Linked DNA regions of Homo sapiens: regions 1 and 3 are each linked to region 2. The links are contacts of gene promoters, found by promoter capture Hi-C in human tissues and cell types (Jung and others, 2019). All regions are on one chromosome and are shown on one strand. The core of a region is centred on a gene start or on the middle of the fragment in contact, and the rest is flanking DNA. Distances in the headings are between cores, read along the strand shown. Region 1 overlaps DAP3 (death associated protein 3). Region 2 holds the start of SCAMP3 (secretory carrier membrane protein 3). Region 3 overlaps ASH1L (ASH1 like histone lysine methyltransferase).

What was found. Contacts are between HindIII fragments. The study calls those that stand out against the background at their distance.
Region 1: a fragment that was not itself captured here is called in contact with the fragment with the promoter of SCAMP3 in region 2 in 1 of the 25 tissues and cell types used here (lymphoblastoid cells).
Region 3: a fragment that was not itself captured here is called in contact with the fragment with the promoter of SCAMP3 in region 2 in 1 of the 25 tissues and cell types used here (IMR-90 fibroblasts).

Annotation. Positions count from the first base shown.
Region 1 is chr1:155,709,669-155,712,368 of GRCh38, forward strand. It overlaps DAP3 (death associated protein 3), which reads left to right. Exons shown (of 13, transcript NM_004632.4): 2 at 105-156. The coding sequence starts at 112. Among named protein-coding and RNA genes, the nearest start is that of DAP3, 22 kb to the left of the region's middle. The HindIII fragment of the contact is 3,221 bases long and covers 1-2,700 here.
Region 2 is chr1:155,261,109-155,263,808 of GRCh38, forward strand. It overlaps SCAMP3 (secretory carrier membrane protein 3), which reads right to left and starts at 1,252. Exons shown (of 9, transcript NM_005698.4): 1 at 978-1,252; 2 at 549-626. The coding sequence starts at 1,043. CLK2 (CDC like kinase 2) reads right to left here. Exons shown (of 13, transcript NM_001294338.2): 13 at 1,760-2,292. The coding sequence ends at 2,110. The HindIII fragment of the contact is 10,284 bases long and covers 1-2,700 here.
Region 3 is chr1:155,526,379-155,529,078 of GRCh38, forward strand. All of the region lies in intron 1 of ASH1L (ASH1 like histone lysine methyltransferase), which reads right to left. Among named protein-coding and RNA genes, the nearest start is that of ASH1L-AS1, 34 kb to the right of the region's middle. The HindIII fragment of the contact is 7,904 bases long and covers 1-2,700 here.

The sequences.
Region 1 (2,700 bases), core at 14-2,513, 450 kb after region 2:
AATATAGATTATTAATCCCTATTAATCTATTGTCAGTTTTCCATGTTGCACACATCTTTTCCCATTTGTGGTTTACCTTTTCACTTTTTTTTTTTTTGTAACAGTGCAAGGATGATGCTGAAAGGAATAACAAGGCTTATCTCTAGGATCCATAAGGTGAGTCCTGACTGACCTGAACACTCTGTGCATACTGCCTTTAGGTTCCCAGATTCTTGTTTTCAGATGGATTCATTGTATCTAGAGTGAAATGCTCTGGAAAACTTCATATGTAACAGGTTTCAGTAGAATAATTGTGCTTGAGAATTTACCATGGAATAGGAGAATTAATATTTTTCCAGAAAACATAAGTAAGTTTGACTGTAATTATCTTTATTAACTTTATTTCTCTAGCCAACTAGAGAATGGTTATCATCCCTTAATGAAGTATTTAAAAGAAAAACAAGTTGCCAATTTACAGCTTTAGCATCTAAAATAGAATAAAAAATAAAATTGTACATGAAAAAGACCATTCTGCTGGTTTACTTCATTTTTTCACATATTTACCAAATAGTTTTTCAGTACTTTTTTTTTTTTTTTTTTGAGACAGAGTCTCGCTCTGTTGCCCAGGCTGGAGTGTGCAGTGGCGCAATCTCGGCTCACTGCAACCTCTGCCTCCTGGGTTCAAGCTATTCTTCTGCCTCAGCCTCCCGAATAGCTGGGACTACAGGCGCTTGCCACCATGCCCGGCTAATTTTTGTATTTTTAGTAGAAACGGTGTTTCATCATATTAGCTAGGCTGGTCTCGAACTCCTGACTTCGTGATCTGCCCACCTAGGCCTCCCAAAGTGCTGGGATTACAGGCGTGAGCCACTGTGCCCGGCCTTCAGTACCTTCTATATGGCAGGTACTCAGAATTCTAAGATGCCTCATTTCACTAATAATAGTTATTATTTGTTGGGTATTATTATGTGCCAGGTACTACACTAAGTGATTTATTTTTTTAATCCTCATGATCAACCCATGAACGAGATAATATCCTTGTTTCACAGATGGAGAAACTAAAGATGAGACTGGCTAGGTAACTTACCTGAGGAAATAGCCTGTGAGGTTGCAAAGCCCACACGAGATGCCAGGTCTGTCTGACTTCAAAGCCTGTGGCCTAACCACTGTGCTCTATTGCATTTTATGGTCCATGTTCTCCAGAAGCTTACAGTCCAGTAGAATCATGAAAAAATGACTATTTCAGTATGGTGCTCTTACAGCACCAAAGAGGAGCACCTGAGCGGGATTAGTCGAGTCAGCAGGAGATCCTGAAAGGCTCAGAACTGAGCCAGAAAGACTTGGTCATTTTCAGCTGATTATTTAATTACAGATTAGATTTCCTAGAAAAGGAGCCCTTCCTCCTATATGGCTCCCCCTGCATGTGCCCCCTTCCCTCAGGCCTATATATTAATACATAAAATAACCCATTATTATAAAATGAAACGAAAGCAAGGATCAGCAGAGGGATGGATTCTGGACTCAACTGATCATATTACAAGGCTAAAATAAATTTCCTCTCTCGGCCGGGCACAGTAGCTCATGCCTGTAATCCCAGCACTTTGGGAGGCCGAGGCAGGCAGATCACCTGAGGTCAGCAGTTTGAGACCAGCCTGGCCAACATAGTGAAACCCCGTCTCTACTAAAAATACAAAAATTAGCTGCGTGTGGTGGCACACGCCTGTAATCCCAGCTACTTGGGAGGCTGAGGTAAGAGAATCGCTTGAACCCAAGAGGTAGAGGTTGCAGTGAGCCAAGATCACGCCACTGCACTCTAGCCTGGGCAATAGAGCGAGACTCCATCTCAAAAGAAAAAAAAAAATTTCCTCTTTCTTAATAACAGACAACAAAGACCTGAGGCTAGACTGTAGAGTGCTGTTGGTGAGAGAAAGTTTTGTTTTTTTTTTTTTACTAGTTTGGTTCAGGGTGACTGTATTAGTCAGGGTTCTCTACAGGGACAGCACTAATAGGATAGAAGTATATATGAAGGAGAGTTTGTTAAGGAGTATTGAGTCACACCATCTGGCGAAGTCCCACAGTAGGCCGTGAGCAAGCTGAGGAGCAAGTAAGCCAGTCCAAGTCCCAAAACTTCAAAAGTAGGGAAGCTGACAGTGCAGTCTTCAGTCTGTGGCTAAAGGCCTGAGAGCCCCTGGCAAATCACTGTTGTAAGTCCAAGGGTCCAAAAGCTGAAGAACTTGGAGTCCAGTGTTCGAGGGCGGGAAGCATCTAGCTCAGGAGAAAGATGAAGGCTGGAAGACCCAGCAAGTCGGCTCATCCTACCTTCTTCTGCCTGCTTTATTCTAGCTGCCCTGGCAGGTGATTAGATGGTGTCCACCCACACTGAGGGTGGGTCTGCGTCTCCCAGTCCACTGACTCAAATGTTAATCTCCTTTGGCAACACCCTCACAGACACACCCAGGAACAATACTTTACAGCCTTTAATCCAATCAAGTTGACGCTTAATATTAACCATCACGGTGATCTTCTAGATTGGCTCACAAATGCTCTTTCAGAAACTGCAGGATGTTCATTCTGGAACTGTACAGAGGCAATTGTACAGATGGTTGTTTTCTCTGGAAACAACAGTCTACTTGAGTGATAACATATATAAAACTTTAAGAACTAAAGATTCCATTTTGCTGTAGGCCAGGCATGGTGGCTTACACCTGTAATCCCAGCACT
Region 2 (2,700 bases), core at 2-2,501:
CAAGAGATGGGGGTCTCGCTGTTGCCCAGGATGGTCTCCATCAAATTCCTGGGCTCAAGCAATCCTCCCACCTCAGCCTCCCAAGTGGGATTACAGGCATGCACACCATGCTTGGCTTTTTTTTTTAAGTTTTAAGTACCATGAAAACCCCTTAAATTCTTACAACTCACCATCTTCTAATCCAGTGGGACAAACAGGTGTAGTCCTCCTCATTCCTTGCTTTCAAACTGCACACCTAACCTAAACTCCAACCAGCCCCAACCTTTATTTTCTTCAAGAAAGCCTTCCCATACAGAACATTGGTTAAGGCCTTGCCAGCCTCCAGATCTTCCCAGGACTGACTTTTAGAGCTCAAACCATTTGGGTTGGTGGCCCTGGTGGCCCTAGAAGGATGAGGCATCCCATGGCTGACTAGCCTCTCTCAGGGAACTAAGATCACAGTGCCTCTTCCTTCCTGTGCATGCAGAAAAGTCCCCTGTACCCAAGCTAACTTGTCTCACTGGCAAACCCTTCCCTTCCTTGAACTCCTATGCTCTCCAGTAGCTCACCTCCCGGGTCTCAAAAGGGTTGTAGACGTCAAGCGTGGCATACTGCCGGCTGGGTCGGTGCTGGATCACAGCTGGGTCCTGAGGGCAGAGACCCGGGTCTCAGCTGGCACCCAGTGCCACCTAGGGGAATTCCCAGGGACCATTCCCAAACTGCCTGTGGCTCCAAGTACTGCACCTTCGGGGCCACGCCGTTGTCCCAGGACTGGGACAACATTTACCTCAAATCCATCATCCAACACTGCCAGCACCAGCCCATTAAGGGGCAGGGCCCGCCCCCCAGAGTGCTCACTGGTCTGGAGTCACTGTCACCCCACGTGGCGGCTCTTCCCAGGATCAAATGTCACAAATGGGGATACAAGTTAGCCCGACCCTACAGAACCGGGAAGAATCAACCTGACCGCCCAAAAGAGGCCGACTGGCGCAAGTCACCTGAAAGGGGTTGTCAAGCTCGCTGGGCTCGGCGAACGGGTTTCCGCCGTCTCTGCTCTGAGCCATGTTTGCAACTGCGGCCTCCGCGGCCCTCTGCCCTCCACGCCCCTGCCGCAGCAGTGGCGGTAGCGGTAGCCCTCAGAGTCCACTTCACTCGCCTCAGTTCGCCCCGCTTCTCTGTGCACGGATTGGTTCCACCGACCGGAAGGGCCACAAGGATCCCCGCAGCAGCCGTGGGTTGCGCCTGCGTCTTGTCCAAAAGCTAAGACGAAAGTGCCCCCACGTGATACCTCTAACCCAGTGCCCACAACCAACTACCGCCCCTCTTCCATGTGACTTCCTTCCACTAACGAACTACACTTCCCAGCAGGCCTCGCGTAGGAATCCGGCCTTCCTAGTCTCCCGAGATGGACGACGGGAGCCTTCTGACCGGTCGTGGCAATCCCCCCTAGGAGCCAGGTTGAGCACGTTTTCAACCTGAGTTTCTGGCTCTATACTGGGCCGCGGCCTAATGACTCTAGGAGTCAGATCTTTCCCAACTCTCATAATTCCACATCCGAGAAGTGCCACCTCATAACACTTCTCTGTTTTAATCTGAAAGAAATGCTGCCCCACCCATCACTACCCTCCCATATGATAAGGTGGACAGGGGAAATAAACTGGTAGCCTGGCTGTGCTTCATTTTGGAGGGTAAGGAGGACTCCCTTCATACCCAAACTCAGAAAGTTTGCCAATAGTTTCATCCCTCCACCCCAGCATTCCCAAACCTCCAACTCCAGGGATGGGGGTCAAATGAAGCACGTTATTTTATTTCACAAAGACTGTACAAAATTCCTTATAAAACATGGGGTAGATGCCACCTGGTTACCTCACTCGGCCCCCATCCAACTCCGTATGAGGGGGCAGGTGAGGGTGGAAACTGTGTGGATGGAATAGTATTATGTACAAGGCAGGGGTTGAAGTGATAGGTACAAGTTCTTTCATATTTACACTATTTCACATATTCACAGGTATATAGAGAGCCAGGAGGAAGGAGTGAACTCTGGCTCGTTCTCTTGTATAAAAAAGCACCAGTGTCCTGGACTGGACACCCACTGCTATAAAAGATGCAGGGGGGCCCAGGGCCTGATCGTCACCGACTGATATCCCGACTGGAGTCCCACAACTTGTTGGGCGGCTCAGCCCGAAGGCGGGCGAAGAAAGGATGCTGAAGGGCTTCACCCAAGGTCAGCCGCTTAGCTGGTTCATACTCTAGCATGCTTTCAATCAGATCGAAGAGCTGGTGGTGTTCCTCTGCCTCTGAGGTCAGATACCGCTGGTGGAGGAGGGCAGGAAAAAGGTGAGGCAGGATGCCTTACAAACCCTGCCTTCTTCAAGACCCTACCTTTCATTCTTGGAGAACCAAGGCTCTGCTTGCAACCAATTTGAAGGCTACCTAACCACGACCACACCAGGACCAACGTTTCTGATATTATAGCTCAACCTACCTTCCCACTAGCACAATTACTCCATAATCTTTGAAAGTTCTTTCTACTTGTATATCCTTGTCAACTTCATGAATCTTCTTTAGTTCCTCATTAAAATGTAAGCTCTTCAAAGGTAGTTTATTCTTTTCTGTCTGACCTAAAGAATCCAGGACATTGCTTTGATCTCTGGTTGTCTCAAGGTTAGGCTGTCTAACCTCCTTCCCTCCACAAAACCACTCCCTCTTATGTTTCCTCTG
Region 3 (2,700 bases), core at 106-2,605, 270 kb after region 2:
TTTCTGTAAATTTACTAAAATATCCTAATTTCAGCACTAACATACTTCCAAATCATATTTTATACATCTTCTGTCTCTGTACCATCACAGCTAGTCTAAGAAAAACAATAACACTCAATGATCTCATTTTATATTCCTGACCACTAACTCCGAGTAAGCCCTTGGTGCTGCCAATACACTTCCCTAATCTATTCCCTCTACCACTCTCCTAAAAAACTATTTCATCCCATCTCCCCTTTCTTCATTGTCCCTAATTTTGCTTCCTATCTGATCACAGCAGTAGTCAGATAGGAAGCAGTAACAAACAGAAAAGTGCCACAAGTGCCCACCATATATCTACCTACCTTCCTACCTGTGTCTGTTCCTATAGTCTGACTGCCTTCCTATCACAATATATAAACGATCTCTCCTTTCAACCTCTTCATTTAGGCAACTATCTCCTTTCTCTCTCACATCATCCATTTCTCATATTTCCTCTGAATAATGCCAATAAGCCTGAAAACAAAAACATACTATAATATCTCTCATGGAAGAAAATTCCTCTTAGCCGAGCAAGATGGCTCACGCCTGTAATCCCAGCAGTTGGGAGGCCAAGGCGGGCAGACCTCACTTGAGGTCAGATACTCAAGACCAGCTTGGCCAACGTGGTGAAACCCCATCTCTACCAAAAATATAAGAAATTAGCCAGGTGTGGTGGCGCATGCCTGTAATCCCAGCTACTCAGGAGGCTGAGGCAGGAGAATTGCTTGAACCCGGGAGGCAGAGGTTGCAGTGAGCCAAGATGGTGCCACTGCACTCCAGCCTAGGTGACAGAGCGAGACTCCGTCTCAAAAAAAAAGAAAAAAAAAAATTCCTCTTGACTCCACATCCTCCACCATCTTCCCATTTCTCTGTTCCTCTTCACAACAAAATTGTTAGAATTCTCTATATTGTCTATTCTCCCTGACCTCCAATCCTTGCTTTTTCTCTTGAACATACTGATTATACTTTCACTGCCACCCCTCCATAGAAACTGCTAGTCAAGGTCACCAACAACCTCCACATTGCTAAGAAGAATGATCAATTCTCAGTCCTCTCATCTTACCTGACCTATCAACAGAATTTGGCACAGCTAAACAGCTCCCTCGCTACCTCACTTGACTTACGGGATACCTTTTTTTTTTTTTTTTTTTTTTTGAGTCAAGGTCTCTCTCTGTCACCCTGGCCAGAGTGCAGTGGCACAATCATAGCTCACTGCAGCCTCAAAATCCTGGGCTCAAGTGATTCTCCTGCCTCAGACCCCAAGTAGCTATTCCAAGTAGCTAGAAATACAGGCATGTGCCACCATGTCCAATTTTTTTTCACTGTTTTAGAGACAGGGTCTCACTAGGTTGCCCAGGCTAGTCTTCAAGTCCTGGCCTCAAGCAATCCTCCGACCTCAGACTCCCGAGTAGCTGGGATGACAGGCATGAGTCACCGTGCCCAGCTCTGGGACTCCTCTCTTGATTGTTCTTCCTCACTGGCTACTACCCTCTGTCTCCTTTGCAGGTTCTTTCCTTCCTCCATGACCTTTAAATACTGGAGTGACGCAGGGTACCCGGACCTCTTCCTTTTTCTATCTACACTCAGTTCCCAAATGACCAGATCCAGTCTTACGGCTTTAAATTTCATCTAACATTGATGATTCACAAATTTCTATCTTCAGATAGAGACTAGCTGAGACCTCTTTCTGGAACTTCAGATTCACATATCTAAATGCTTACTTGACATACTGACTGGATTGTGTAATAGATAGGCACTTAACATGTTTAAAATCAATTCATCTTTGCCCACTGCCCCAAATCTATTCTTCCTACAGGTTTCATTTCAAAATATGGTAATTCCAAAGAGAAATATTTAGGCCAAAAATCTCTACCCATCCTTAATTGCTTTTTCTCTCAAACCCCTCATGTCCATTTGGTCAGCTAAGTTTGTCAGCTTTACCTTCAAAATGTATGCAGAATCTAACCAGTTGTCATTACTCTGACAGCTATTAGATCCAAGTGATGATAAATATGTGAATGGATTATTGCAATAGCTTTTTTTTTTTTTAAAGAAAGAGGTTTATTTAAAGGAATTGCTCACATGATTATGGAAGCTGGCCAGTCCCAAAATCTGCAGGGTGGGTCAGTGGCAGGCTGAAGACCCAGGAAGACCCAATGTTTTCATTCTGCTGGCAGACTTGCCTCTTACTGAGGAGAGGTCAATCTTTTGTTCTGTTAATGCCTTCAGTTGAGTAGATGAAGTTCCTCCCCAACATTATGGAGGGTGATCTGCTTAACTCAAAGTCCATTGATTTATTGATTTTTTAATATATTTAACTTTTATTCTAAGTTCAGGGGTACATGTGCAGGTTTGTTACGTGGGTAAACTTGTGTCATGGGGGTTTATTTCATCACCCAGGTATTAAGCCTAGTACCCATTAGTTATTTTTCCTGATTCTCTCCCTCTTCCCACCCTCCACCCTCCAATAAGCCCCAGTGTGTGTTGTTCCCCTCTATGTGTCCATGTGTTGTCATCATTTAGCTCCCATTTATATGTGAGAACATACAGTATTTGATTTTCTGTTCCTGCACTAGTTTGCCAAAGATAATGGCCTCCACTCCATCCATGATCCTGCCAAGTACATGATCTCATTTTTTTTTTGTGGCTCCATAGCATTTCATGATGTATATGTACTAC